Linked DNA regions of Homo sapiens: all the other regions are linked to region 3. The links are contacts of gene promoters, found by promoter capture Hi-C in blood cells and fetal thymus (Javierre and others, 2016). All regions are on one chromosome and are shown on one strand. The core of a region is centred on a gene start or on the middle of the fragment in contact, and the rest is flanking DNA. Distances in the headings are between cores, read along the strand shown.

Region 1 (3,649 bases), core at 417-2,916, 2.2 Mb after region 3:
CTTTAACATTGTAGTATGCCACAACTGTAAAGTATTAATGATATTATTACCAAAACAAGAAAAAATTATTTTATTATGTCAAGAGTTTAAATAAGATGTTCTGCTGCCATTGTTCTAACTGTCCAGTGTATTAACACTCCTTGATGTGCTTAGAAGGTGGATCCATGAATTCCTTAGACTTTCTGCCAGAATTAAAAAGTGTCTAATTAAATGGTGAACAGTAAGTAGACTGAGGCAAATTTCCAGTGATGTTGTCATTTTTTTTTTTTTTGCTATGCCTTTAGCTTGAGGATTACAACACAATTCTATTTAAAACCAAATGGCATTAGTTCTTATCTATTCCCCAGATTGAAAATCTATTTTAAGTCAATATTTTAAAGAAATATGAAGCCATAACAAAAGCTACCATTATTTTTGCTCTGAAGTGCTAGTTAATGAATGCAAAGAAGATAGATTTAGAACTATTCATCATTTAATGTTTAATGAAATTTATTTTCAGTATATTTTATATGGGTTTTTTTACCTCCTCTAAAGAGGAATAATGTTTATTGATTAAAAGTGAAAAATAATGGTTTAGACACCAATTCTTTTTCAAGATCTTTGACTATATTACGCATTGTACAATGGATTTTATTCTTCATGAAATTTTTTAGTTTCCCTACTGGTAAGATAGAGATAATGACTTAGAGAGAGTTCTACAGGATACTCAGACTTTAAAATACTTAGATTGATCGATAAAAGAAAGTAAAGCAAAAGATAAGGAGTGGGAGAATTTCAACAGAAAATTAGAAGCTATAAAAAATCAGTGGGACCAGGCACAGTGGCTCATGCCTGTAATCTCAGCACTTTGGGAGGCCGAGGCAGGTGGATCACAAGGTCAGGAGTTTGAGATCAGCCTGACCAACGTGGTGAAACCCCATTTCTACTAAAAATACAAAAATTAGCCAGGCATGGTGGTGCGCTCCTGTAATCCAAGCTACTCAGGAGGCTGAGGCAGGAGAATCGCTTGAACCCAGGAAGTGGAGGTTGCAGTGAACCGAGATCATGCCACTGTACTCCAGCCTGGGTGAGAGAGTGAGACTCTGTCTCAAAAAAAAAAAAAAAAAAAAAAAAAATTAAGTGGACATTCTTAGTCTGAAATTTTTTAGAAATCTGAAATTTAAAAAAATTTATTTGGTTTTAAAGGCAGATAGAACAAAGCAGAACACGAGGTTTATGAAATTAAAAACAGGTCCCTAGAAAATATTAAATATAAAGGCAAAGTGTTAGAAAAATAAATAGAAAAAAATTAAAACCAAGTGTTTAAGATATGTATTGGACACAGTTAAAAAATCAAACATAGGTGTAACTAGATGACCCAAAGAAAAGAGAAAGACATGGTGGCAGAACAATATTTTAAAAGATGATGATAGAATTTTCAAACTCAAAAAACTTATCAACCCAAAGATTAAGTAAGATCACTGAATTCAATACAAGATATGTACAAGGAAATTATCAATAAGCACCTCATAGTTCACGTATTAAAAAAACAAAATATATACAATTGAAAAGAGAATTTATAAACTAAAAGGTAGGTCAGAAGAAAATACCCAAACGGACACACGGACAGTTAAGAGGATGGAGAATCCAGAAAGGGCATGAGAAACTTATCAGATATAATTAAAAGGTTTACTCAAGGTACAGAAAGAAAGGAGAAGAAAATGGGACTAAAACAATATTTGAAGAGAAAGTAGCCAAGAATTTTTCAGATTTAAGAAATGCTACAAACCTCCAGAAGGATAAACACATTTCCATTTTATAAGAAGCAAGCAATATAAGGTTTGGATAATTGAGGTTTCATTGTATTTTTATGGAATATTAGAACTGGAAGAGACCTAAGAGATAAACTAAATATAACCCACTGATTTTATAGAAGCAGCAGCTTGAGGGGCCTACCAGTAAATAACTTGAGAGTCAGACAGAATCAGAACTCTTAAATTCAAATTAAGTGATATTTTCACTATACAAGACTTTCTCTCCTATTTAATTTTCTTAAATTAAATCAACAGCTTTCTCAGAAGATATAGAGCATTCTATCATTTTAAATATAGATTTTCCTAAACTACTTTTTAAATCTTTCTTGTTGACTTTCATAATGTCAGGCATATTGATAGTGAGAAAGAGTAATGTTAGTCACTTGTTCAAGGTCACATGTTAGAGGCAGATGAGGGACTAAAATTCAGGTCTCTGAGCTTTCAAGTGCGGAGTGTTTTCCACATGTATTTTTTTTTTTTAGATGGCATTTGAGCACTGCAACTGAAAGCAAAAACTACTGTTCTTTCACCTTCATTTTTAGCTTTAGCTATTATTTGTTGGGTGATCCATACAATTTTGTTTGTTTGTTTGTTTTGTTTTGTTTTGAGACAGAGTTTTGCTCTTGTCATCCAGGCTGGAGTGCAGTGGCATGATCTTGGCTCACTGCAACCTCCACCTCCTGGGTTCAACCAATTCTCCTGCCTCAGCCTCCTGAGTAGCTGGGATTACAGGTGCCTGCCACCTCACCCCACTAATTTTTTGTATTTTTAGTAGAGACAGAGTTTCGTCATGTTAAGCAGGCTGGTCTGGAACTCCTGACCTCAGGTGATCTGCTCGCCTCGGCCTCCCAAAGTGCTGGCATTACAGACGTGAGCCACCGCACCCGACCAATCCATACAATTTCTAATCCAATTCTCTGTATTATGTGAAAGGGGAGTGGAGGAGTACAGGAGAGAATGGAGAAAGCAACTATGATTTGATAGCAAACTTATACCTTTTGTCTACCTAACATTTTTTCCTCATTTCTTCTAGTAATAGACCCCATCACTGTCCTGGATGTAAGAATGAATACATGGCTAAGCTATGGCAAAAACAGTATATCTCCTTGTTAGGACAGCAATTGGCCCACAGTTGAGAACTTTACTCAAGGTGGGAATATTAGCCTTCTTCCAGGACTTTTACATTGAGAACATTTAATCTCTAGTCATGAAGCAATGAGTTTATGATCCCAGGAAGAGGGATGGTGCACATCATTTCAGCCAGCTTGAGAAAATGAAGTCACTGTTTAGAAAGATTCACAGGAGGAGAAGGAAGAGAATAATACAGATTAGAGCCTCTAGTTCGATGTTCCATCATCCCTGTCCTTACCATAATTAATGTGCCAATAAATTTACCCTTTTGCCTAATAAGCTCAAATTGAGTTTTAATCACTTTCATTTCAAAGATTTTTTATTGATGCAGAGATTTGTACAGATGGTCCCCAAGTTATGGCTCAACTTACAATTTTTCAACTTTACAGTGATGCAAAAGCTACATGCATTCAATAGAAACCACACTTTGATCTTTTCCAAGGCTATAGATATGAGATGATAATCTCCCGTGATGCTGGGCGGCAGTAGTGAGCCACAGCTCCAAGTCATGTGACCATGAGGACTGAAAAATGATACTGTACTCTATCATGTACTATACACAATAAATTACATGATATATTCAACACTTTATTATATAATAATCTTAGGGTTAGATGATTTTGCCTGACCATAGGCTAATGTAAGTTTTCTGAGCATATTTAAAGTAGGGTAGGCTAAGCTATGATATTTGGTAGGCTAGGTGTATTAAATGCATTTTCAATTTA
Region 2 (3,732 bases), core at 1,233-3,732, 2.0 Mb after region 3:
GTTGTTTTGGTTTTGTTCCTAATAAAGATTCTGCATGTGAACAAGTTAAGAAACAGAAAAATGGAAAGTGAAAGAAATGAACTTGGAGAATACAGCAGGCAGCTTCCAACATGACCCCCGAAACTTCCCTTCACTTCCTAGTATTCATACCCTTACAAAATCTCCTCCACCTGAGTCTGGGTGGAACCTGTGACTTGCTTTTAACAGCATATGGCAAAGATTGTGGGATAGCATTTCTGTGATTAGGTTACATAAGATAGTGACTTCTGCCTTTCTAACAGGCTCTTTCTCTCTTACTAGTTTGATGAGGTAAGTTGCATGTTCCCACACTGCAATGAACAAAAGGTGGTTGTGGTCTCCAGCCAATAGCCATCAAGAACTCAGGCCCTCAGTCTCACAGTCTTTGGAAAATTAAATCCTACCACAACCATGATAATAAGCTTGAAAATTAATTTGTCCCCAGTCAAGCCTTCAGATGAGACTCCAACACTGGCCAACACTTGATCACAGCTTTGTGAAAGACCCTGAACAGAGCGTTCGGTTAACCCATTCCCAGATTCCTAACCCTCAGAAATTATGAGAATGAATTTGTGTTGCTTTTAGCCAATGAGTGGTAATTTGTTATACAGCAATAAGAAACTAATTGGAAAAATGCCCATATATTTTACTTATTTCATAATTTTACTCGTGACCAGCCTTGCTTTGTGGTTATATTAACGCATTAGGAAATATGTTGGGGTGAATAAAAAGTGAATAATTTACCCTTCTCTTTTTTTTCTATCAATCCAGAAAGTATTATCAATTATTTTATCAATTTATTTTTATAAATCACAGTAATGTCACTCCTTTTCTGTTTTTTAATTCCATTTGTAAAGCTATATCTTATAGAAGATTATAATTCTTAAAATCATGTTTATAAATAAGCTATTTTCCAGATGTTCCAATAAGACCCTTGAATATCTGGGTAAAAAGGAGATTAAAGGCTGGTAGTCAGAGGACAGAAGAGCAAAATATAAAGGAACATGAACTAAAATTAACGGCATGCTTCTTTTCCCTCTACTTTCACAGACTTTCATTAATGTAAATAAGAAAGTGTTTTCAGCTTCTTTTAAATAAAGATATTGGTCTATAAAAATAATTATATTTCTTTGATAATTAATACAGTCTTTGAGTCCTAATATTACCACTGGAAACTCTTTTTTGCAATGCAGCATAATTGAAGCATGCATGTTGTTAAATCTGCAGGAGGTTAGTTATTTTATTATCTAATACTGTTCATTATACATACTATACTTCTGAAAAAATGGTTATGTTGTCTGCTTCTGTAATACTTTTTCCAAAAGTTAGTTTTTTGTTTTTGGTTTTTGGTTTTGGTCTTTTGTTTTTGTTTTTGTTTTTTTTTTTTTTTTGAGATGGAGTTTCACTCTTGTCGCCCAGGCTGGAGTGCAATGGCGCAATCTCGGCTCACTGCGACCTCCACCTTCCAGGTTTAAGCGATTCTCCTGCCTCAGCCTCCCCAGTAGCTGGGATCACAGGCATGTGCCACCACGCCCACCTAATTTTGTATTTTTAGTAGAGACGGGATTTCTCCATGTTGGTCAGGCTGGTCTCGAACTCCTGACCTCAGGTGATCTGCCCACCTTAGCCTCCCAAAGTGCTGGGATTACGGGCGTGAGCCACCCCGCCTGGCCGAGACTTCTTAAATTATATTCCTTGCAGCTGGCCTCCAGTGTGTCATTGGAATCCTACCTTCTACCTAGTTCATACTATTTTACTGCTTCTCTCTGACTTCTTCGGTCTTTTTACAACAGACTTCAGATTGCAATGCAGTTAAAATTAATTACTTAGCCAAACAAGATAGGAGTTTGACTCTGTGTTCTTTGCTCTCCTTTTCAGCCTCTGTGGAAGACTTGATAACTTCTGTGCTCTAGAAACTTCTAATTGAGCATGAAGAAAGCTGGTAAATCACTGCACTGTAGCAACAGCAATCCAGTGTTTTCTCTGCCTAATGATCCTAAAGCTGATTCAATATATGTTCGTCATCAGAAATCTTTACAATGTTCAAGGCATATTTATCAGAATTTGGAATAAGCTTGCACAAATTCCCTCTTGCAACATTCTATAGCTTAGCTCAATTCCTTTCTCTTTGTATAGATCAGTGAAGCGCCAGAAGATTTACTATGAGTAAACAACTTTAGATATAAGATTTGCAGGACTTTAATATCAGACACCTGCTGGTCATATAATTGAAATTATCTACACTGAAGTAGAAACTAGTTTACCAATTATGTTTCTTTTTATGGTCCCAAACCTCATACTCATCTATATCTATATTACTAGTTTGCTAGCTAGCAATTTCTGCTACTCATTATTTCTATCCTGCTACTTTCATAAAAGTTTGGATTGATTTCAGAGCAGTTACACCAACAAATAATGATAAAGTAGAAATATGTGCATTGGGCAGCTTCTGAGATTGAATGTGCTCACTAAATCTTTGTAGAAATCTTCCTGGATTACCTATCTACCCTTCCAATTATTCTCTATTACTGCACCTGTAACTTTTCAAAACCCAGGATTACAACAGTTATTTATCTGCCAAATTTTGTGTCTCCCCTTCAATGTAAGTGCCATAAGTACAAGGACTCTGTGTGTAGGTATGTGTGAGCTATTCACAATTATAATGGAACAGTGAGAATAAGTCACTAAAGATATCAGTGTCTGGCATGTAATAATAACAGCAGATCAGTCAATATGTTATTAAATATTTAAACTATGGGGAAATGGGAAAAGAGAAGGCTATTGCCTAGGTAAATATCAGTGCCATGATGATGGGCCATGGTAGCTTGTTTCACTGGCACATGTTTCATTGAACCAAGCTTCTGCAAAGGCTTGGTCTCAGCACCTGGAAAAGCAGTCAATTGAAAAGATATAGTGGTGGTGTGGGTGCTGCAGGAGATGTCACTCTAGAGCTTGCAAACAGCAAATGGCACCACTGAGGCATCCATGCCACGTTACCTGGTACTCAGATTCACTGACAATAGAAAACCTTCATAAAATCACATCTAGAGTCTCCAAGGTTAGCAGTAGAAGATGAGTAATAACATGGAAGTTAAGATTTTATTTTCCTAACAGAAATCATCAAGGAAGTTCTGAGGTTGAAGAGATATTCTTAAGAGACAAATATATCTCCATGAAAAAAAATAAGACTTTGAGGCCCATTTCCTCTTCCTGTCTCTGCTGCAAACCTTGATGATTAAAATATTTAGGAAGTAAAAGATTTCACGACTGTGAGACTTCTTGATGACCTATGAAATCAAGAGCTCCGAGAGCTAAAGAAAATTTAAAAATCATGTCTTGCATCACCTGAAGGGTGTCCTCCCCACCCTTTAACCCTCAATCAGATCTTGAATGCTAGCTAGAGTTTTAAAAATTGGTGGATGGAGCTGTGTGTTGTTTCATCATTTGCACCCCAACTGTATATCCATCTGATGAAGCTTGGAAAATATACTTGTTAAAAAAAAGAATTAAATCAAGAGACACATAAAATAAAATAGCAGAAGGCCAGGATAGAGAACAGGTAAAAGCAATTGTTGCAATGCCTATATAGTTTTTACGGCTGCAATACAAATATGTCTCCGAGCTTCCAAACAGCTAAAAAAAAAAAAAAAAAAAAAAAAAACCTGTCTTTTTGAGAAATAAAAATAACTCTTAAGAAAAAACTGTCTTCCAAAC
Region 3 (3,450 bases), core at 44-2,543:
AGAGTAAGAGGACTTCTGGTTTTGAAAGCTAGAACTGAACTCAAGAATAATAAAGTGGAGATAACAGTACACATCTCGGTTTGGACAAAACGTAAGAGTGGACAGAATCAGGGAAGGCTGGCCTTCCTAAACATTGGAGCTTTCCAGGAGAGTCGGGGGAAAAGAGCACAGCTATGAAATCCTGTGAGAAATTCCAACAAACACCAGGAAAAAAGATACACTTCCTTGAGCAATATTACTCAACTCAGACTTATGTTTGATTCAGAATGAAAGAATTTTCTTTTCCAATAAATTAAATCATGATAATGGCATCTTTCATGAATTTAAAAATGTGTTAAATAGTATCAGCTATCTAGAACATAGTGAGGCGAACACTAAATCGGCATCCCTTGCAGTTTCCTTGGTTTCAGGAAAATCATTATTTGTGCTCAGCTAACTGGTCCCTTCCAGAGTTTTCATGCTAGACTCAAATCTAAGTATTTATTATAAATATTATAAAATATAAATTATATTATATTTCGTATAATAATATGAAAAGGAAATTAAATGCTTCTCTTTTCTTCAACTCAGTCTCCGCCAAGGCAGGAAGAACTTTTAAAGTGGTGCGTTAGTTTAAGGAGAATCATAAACCATCAGGATTCTTTAATCTGGCTAAAGACAGGCTCTTTGTTTCTAACTTCTGATCACTAGCGCCCTCCTCGGGAAAAAAAAACACGACAGGTTTCTTCCACCAACAGGCTGCTCCCTGTTTCTGGTTCTCATAAAAGAGAAATAGAAGAGCTTTGGAAGCCAGTGGCAACGATAGAGGGGATTGCTAAAAGGGGGTGCTTCTTCCCACCAAGGACACTTTGGACGTATCTATGGATTTATTTGGGTGCGTCCCAAAAATCCATAGCGACAAATCTCTTCTGGAAAATCAAGTCTTTTGGTTAGCAAAGGCATGGGGGAGTGACACCATGGCACAAGGAGAGGGGAGAGAGAAGCTGGCTTTTGCACCCGCAGCTCAGGGCCCCAGACGCATCGCAGAGCCACGGGTGCCCACGAGCAGGGTCAGCTCTCGGGGGCCCTCTTCCGCAGCCCAGACCCGGGACAGGAAGTGAGGGAGCAGGGACAGATCCCGGGGAGGCGCGCGCTCGGTACCCGGAAGGCGGCGGCTTCACGCTCGCGGCTCCGCGGCCAGGTCGGGGTGAAGGGGGCGCGGGAGTCCGCATCGCCGCCGCCCCGGCACAGCAGCCACAGCAGCCACGGCAGCCACGGCAGCGCCCGCACGTCCATTGCGGCGCCCGGCTCCTCTGCCGCCCGCGCGGCCTGTTTTCTCTTTCGGTTCCTCGGCTCCTCCCAGCCTGGGCTCGAGGGGCGGAAGGAGCTGGGTTGAGTGCACGATGCTGAGATTGACCCTTTTTTAGGTCCCCGGTGTTCTGTGACTGAAAATCCGGTCAGCTGGAGGCTACGGACCTCCTTGCTGAGGCTAGTTTTTTTGTTTTTGTTTTTGTTTTGGAAGAGTCAGGCACTTGACCATGTGCTTTCGAGGTTTCACTTCCATCCATTAGAAAAAAAGAAGCCTGAGAGTCATTCTTTTGTGTGTGTTGAGATCAGGTCTCACTGCAGCCTCGACCTTCAGGTTCAAGTGCCTCCTGCCTCAGCCTCCGGAGTACCTGGGACTACAGGCGCGTGCCACCACCCCAGGCTATTTTTGTATTTTTAGTAGAGATAGGATCTTGCCATATTGCCCAGGCCGGTCTCGAACTCCTGGACTCTAGTGATCCACCCGCCTTGGCCTCCCAAAATGCTCACAGGTGTGAGCCACCTGGCCTGCCCTGTGAGCCACCGGAAGCTGCCTTTTTCCTTCTTGCCACAATCCCTAAGTTCAAGACCTAGTTCTGAAGTGATGTGGGCCAATACATAGAGTCATCCATTCAGCAGATGTTTATAAATACGTAACAAAATTGTACAGATGTGAAAAGCATACACAGTTTTTGGATCTATTATGGCAGTTTCAAAACTCTTGAAGCCTGTTTCTCCGTTTGCAAAGGAAGATAGAGCCAAGTACATAATTTGCAGGGTTCCGTGTAAACTGAAAATGAAGTTCCCTTGTTCATAAATTGTGAAGAATTTCAAGACGGCAACAGCAGAGCATTAACCCAAGCCATGGGCCTTCTAAGCACCCACTTCTGCACAGGTCACACACTCATGAACCTGGCTCTACCGAGCCTTTCTATTATCATCTATTCTGAACAAGGCTTCCATGTCTGTGAAATTCATATCATTACCCTTGTAGATTTTTAGAACTAACATCAGATTTATGTCTTTAGTTTTTACCTAGGTGCAGTGAGTTACAATATTCTCCAATGCAAACTTCGTAATAAAAATAAAAATAATGTTCCGAGTATTAAGAGGAAAGACACAAGAGTTTTTTATGTACGTTCATGATAAGATATATTGCTCTTGGCAAGTGTGGTGATAAAGATTTTATTTAAATCATAAGTTCACAGAACGATGTTCATGTTTACCTCAGCAGTTCTTTTGTACTTAGCCCTTTTTTGTGACTCATACAAGCACATACTTTTCTTTTTAAACTGAACTTTGCTTTCAGATCATAGTCCCTGTTTATTGACAACCTACGGAGTCAGGAAATTTAAATATAGGCAGTCATCTTTACTTTAGGATAATTGGTATTGTAAAAAAGCCCCTTGAACTAAACTCATTTCAGGAGCTCACATCAAGTATTTATTGAGTACCTGCTAAGTGTCAGGCATTCTTCTAGGTAATGAGGATATATCAAGTAAGTGGATAAGTGACTAAAGGGATGAAAATCCCCATCCCTATGGGACTGATATTTCAATTGATTTACATCAACAAATATTTTATTGAGTACTTCCTAAGTGTCAGGCATTGTTCTAGGTCATCAGGACACATCATGGATGGAAGTGCATAAGTGACTGAAGAGATGAAAAGCCCCACCCTGTTGAAGCTGGTATTTCAGTGAGGGGGAGAGACGCAATAAAATTACTACAGGTTGAGGATCCCTTATCCACAATGCCTGGGTCTGGAAGTGTTTCAGATTTCAGATTTTTTCCCCCCAGATTTTGGAATATTTGCATATACATAATGAGATCTCTTGGGGATGAGACCCAAGTCTAAACACAAAATTCATTTGTGTTTCACTTATGCTACTGACTGAAGGTAATCTTACTGACTATTTTAGGTAATTTTATGCATAAAACAAGGCTTTGAATGCATTTTGACTATGACCCACCACATGAAGTCAGGTGTGAAATTTTCTAGGTGTGGCATGATGTCAGTACTCAATAAGTTTTAGATTTTGGAGTATTTTGGGTGTTTGGATTAGAGATGCTCAACTTGTACATGTGTTAAAGGACAATAAATCCAGATAAGGAGCATCATCAGTGTGAGGGGTGGTACTGCTATTTTAAATAAGCTGTTCAATAC
Region 4 (3,492 bases), core at 807-3,306, 2.0 Mb after region 3:
TTCATTTTATCTTCTTCATGTGTTTATGTATTTGTCTTGTAGTCCATAAGTGCAGCAAGAAGTATTTACTGTAATATAAATTTTCTCTTGGTTAATTATAAGGAAAGCAGGAGCATTGCAAATTTTTCCTAACCCTAGCTAATGAATTGAGACTAGTTTGTTGGGCATTCAGAGTATAAGTTATATTATTTATGGCTTTTGCTGGGGTCAAAGTAAAGCTTTGCACCATTTTGCCAGTTGTATTATTCCAAATGTGAAAATTATAGCTCAGATAATGAGGGAGTCAGTTATCCCTTCCAAAAGTTTCTTTAAAAACCATATATGTACCTCCTTTTGAAGGGTGATAAACAACTTTTCATCCAGGGCTATATGAACCGCTAGTGGGAGGTTAGTTTTAAATATCTGAAAGTCTCTCATGATTATCTCATGAAATAGAACATGTAAGTTAATATGTAGCAAGCTGAAAGGCATCACCTAGGGAGACTGTAGCTAGAGAAGACAAAAGGACCCAAAGGCATTTCAATATTTAAGTTAGATAAGGAGGAAGGGACAGCAAAGTAGGTAGAGGAAAAGTCCCTGGTGAATTAGGTAAAAAAACAAATAAATCAGGAGGATACAGTGCCCAAGAAACCACAGGAGGAAAGATTCTCAAGGAAGATAGATTGAGTGTAGGGTCAAATGCTGCTCCAAATCAAAATAAGGAAGAATACAGAAGAGGTCACTGGGTTCTGCAAAAGAAAAATCACTGGTCCCCTTAACAACAAACATTTCAGTGGACTTGGGGTGACAAGAGCTACTCTTGAGTGACTGCAACAATAAGCAGCTAAAAAATGTAATTTTTTAAAACTCTGGGTAGCATTAAATTACAAATAAATCTAATAAGAACTCCAGGAAGTCTAGACTCATAAAATAATAATAAAACTACCTAAGTTTTAAAAGAGTAAACAGTTTAAATTTTTTATTGTGCTTTGATGAAATGACTCATTATAAATATATCTATTACCCTAAGATAATTTATTCATTTAACTCAATACAAATGAATTTATTCCAGAGTTTTTCATAAAACTTTGTTGTTGTTGTTGTTGTTGTTGTTATTTTTATTTTAATTTCAGGGGATATACGTATGGGTTTGTTACATGGATATGTTACATGATACTGGAGGTTGGGCTCCTACTGAACCCGTTACCCAAACAGAGAACACAATACCCAATAGGTAATTTTCAATCCTTGCCACCTTCCCTCCCTCCCTCCTTTTGGAGTCCCCAGTGTCTATTATTTCCATCTTTGTGTCCGCATGTACCCGGTGTTTAGCTCCCACTTATAAGTGAAAACATGTGGTATTTGATTATCTGTTCCTGCTCAAATTCACTTAGGATAATGGCCTGTAGCTGCAGCCATGTTGCTGCAAAGGACATAATTTTATTTTTTTAATGGCTGCATAGTATTCTATTATGTATGTGTACCACAATTTCTTTATCCAGTCCACTGTTGATAGGCACCTAGGATGTTCCATGATTTTGCTATTGTGAGTAGTGCTGTGGTGAACATACGAGCGCTGGTGTCTTTTTGGTAAAACAATTTCTTTTCCTTCAGGTAGATACCCAGTAAGGGAATTGCTGAGTTGAATGGTGGTCTTATTTTTAGTTCTTTGATAAATCTCCAAACTGCTTTCCAAAGGGGCTGAACTAATTTATCTTTCCACCAACAGTGAATAAGCATTCACTTTTCTCCACATCCTAGTCAGTATCTGTTGATTTTTAACTTTTAATAATAACCATTCTGACTGGTGTGAGATGGTATATCATTGTGGTTTTGATTTGTATTTCTCTCATGATTAGGAATGTTATGAATTGATTCTAAAGTCTACAAAGAAAAAATAAACGTGTAATAATATCCAAGAAAATATGAAGCAGAAGAATAATAAGCAAAGGCTAGCTATACAAGAAAAAAAAATGTTCTAAAACAATAGGAAATACTAGCACTGGCCACAAATAGTCAATATAACCAAAAAGTCAGATATAGTCTTAAATATATATGGGTTGTTAGTTACTGGTGAAAGTGGCATTCTAAATCCATGGGTATTGAGAGGCAGACAGGGGGAGGTGTGTGGATCAAATAATTCTGGAATAATTGGGTAGCATCTAGGGAAAACGAATGAGCTAGATTCTCTCTCTTGCTTCTTAAATACATTTCAGAAGGACCAATGTTTTCAAAGTGTAAAAACCGAACTATAAAATTGAAAGGAAATGAAAGAAAAACATTGGCAAACCTTCTCATATACTTGATAGTGTAAGGTATTTATAAGCATGATGTAAAAACTTTCAAAACATGGTGCAAAACTATTTAAAAATGTATAAATTTGAGTCCATCAAAATTAAGTTTTAAACTTAATAAATTTAAGAAAAAGAAAAAAATTTACAAACTTACTAGCTTAAATATTTTAGTAATCCAGCTGCTGAAATGTTTATTTTCTTAACATATATATATACATTGCCCATACAAACTAATGAGAAAATTATAAACAAACCAATGTAAAAAAAATGGGCAAAGACATGAATTCAGAAATAAAAAGAAACGCAAAGCCTTTTAAAATTTGAAAATATGATCAGCCTCAGTCATAATAAAATGAATGTAAATTATAATTGCATTTGGATATCAAGTTTTCAAATACTGCATTTGGCAAAAAGCAAAATTCTCTTACTACACTGTATTAGTGAAGGTGTGGAGAATCAAGCACTCTTATACAGTACTGGTATAAATTTAAGTTAGTAAAACATCTGGAAGGCAATTTTCCAACATTTACCAAAATTATAAATAAACATATCCTTTGGATTCAATAATCCCACTTTTAAGAGTGTATCCCATAAATACATGGCATAAAAATATAATTACAAAGATTTTCCCAGCCGTATTTTCTGTGTTAGCAAGAGATTGCAAGCATTATAAATCTTCATTGTAGGGAACTGTGTAAATACATTTATGTGACAGCAAGCCCAGAAGTGGTTAAAAGGAATGAGACATACCTGTGTACACTTCATGAAAGATCTCCTTGATAAGTGGAAAAGCAAAGCATACTTTAATCTATGCAAAAAAAAATCACTTCAACTTGGAGAAATCTTAGTATTGGGGATTGATGATAGAAGGGTGCTAACATTCTGTACTGCTCAAATTTTTTAAGACAGTCATATATTGCCTTCTCAAAAAACTACATTAAAATTATTTAAGTAGGACAAAAAGTGAATGCAAAGGAATAAAATGAAGGCGACGAGTGAGGACAATTATATGTCCTGTTGCTGAGAAGGATGCAGAGAAATTAATGCGTGATCAAAATTTTGTTATTTTTGTTGGGACTGTCCGTTGCTCTTTATAGAGAAAAAGTTCGAAGACACCCTGAGAGTCTGACTACGCATCAGTCAGATTGAACCAATCTGAGAGAGAGAGATGTGATTCAAATGGAGGCAGGTAAAGAAGTCTTCAGAAGCCCCAAGGAAT

Evidence for each region. Contacts are between HindIII fragments. The CHiCAGO score rates a contact against its expected background, and 5 or more counts as called.
Region 1: a contact is called between a fragment that was not itself captured here and the fragment with the promoter of CTSO in region 3, in 1 of 17 cell types (monocytes). The highest score is 5.4, in monocytes.
Region 2: a contact is called between a fragment that was not itself captured here and the fragment with the promoter of CTSO in region 3, in 7 of 17 cell types (naive CD8 T cells, monocytes, non-activated CD4 T cells and 4 more). The highest score is 10.0, in naive CD8 T cells.
Region 4: a contact is called between a fragment that was not itself captured here and the fragment with the promoter of CTSO in region 3, in 1 of 17 cell types (monocytes). The highest score is 5.9, in monocytes.

What each region holds. Positions count from the first base shown.
Region 1 is chr4:158,183,593-158,187,241 of GRCh38, forward strand. All of the region lies in intron 2 of GASK1B-AS1 (GASK1B antisense RNA 1), which reads left to right. Among named protein-coding and RNA genes, the nearest start is that of GASK1B, 12 kb to the left of the region's middle. The HindIII fragment of the contact is 5,491 bases long and covers 1-3,649 here.
Region 2 is chr4:157,971,666-157,975,397 of GRCh38, forward strand. The region is part of intron 2 of LOC105377509 (a long non-coding RNA gene); the gene reads right to left. Among named protein-coding and RNA genes, the nearest start is that of GASK1B-AS1, 200 kb to the right of the region's middle. The HindIII fragment of the contact is 784 bases long and covers 2,091-2,874 here.
Region 3 is chr4:155,952,573-155,956,022 of GRCh38, forward strand. It overlaps CTSO (cathepsin O), which reads right to left and starts at 1,294. Exons shown (of 8, transcript NM_001334.3): 1 at 1,141-1,294. The coding sequence starts at 1,275. RefSeq lists an enhancer at 2,405-2,699. The HindIII fragment of the contact is 8,738 bases long and covers 1-3,450 here.
Region 4 is chr4:157,996,935-158,000,426 of GRCh38, forward strand. The region is part of intron 1 of LOC105377509 (a long non-coding RNA gene); the gene reads right to left. Among named protein-coding and RNA genes, the nearest start is that of GASK1B-AS1, 170 kb to the right of the region's middle. The HindIII fragment of the contact is 3,681 bases long and covers 217-3,492 here.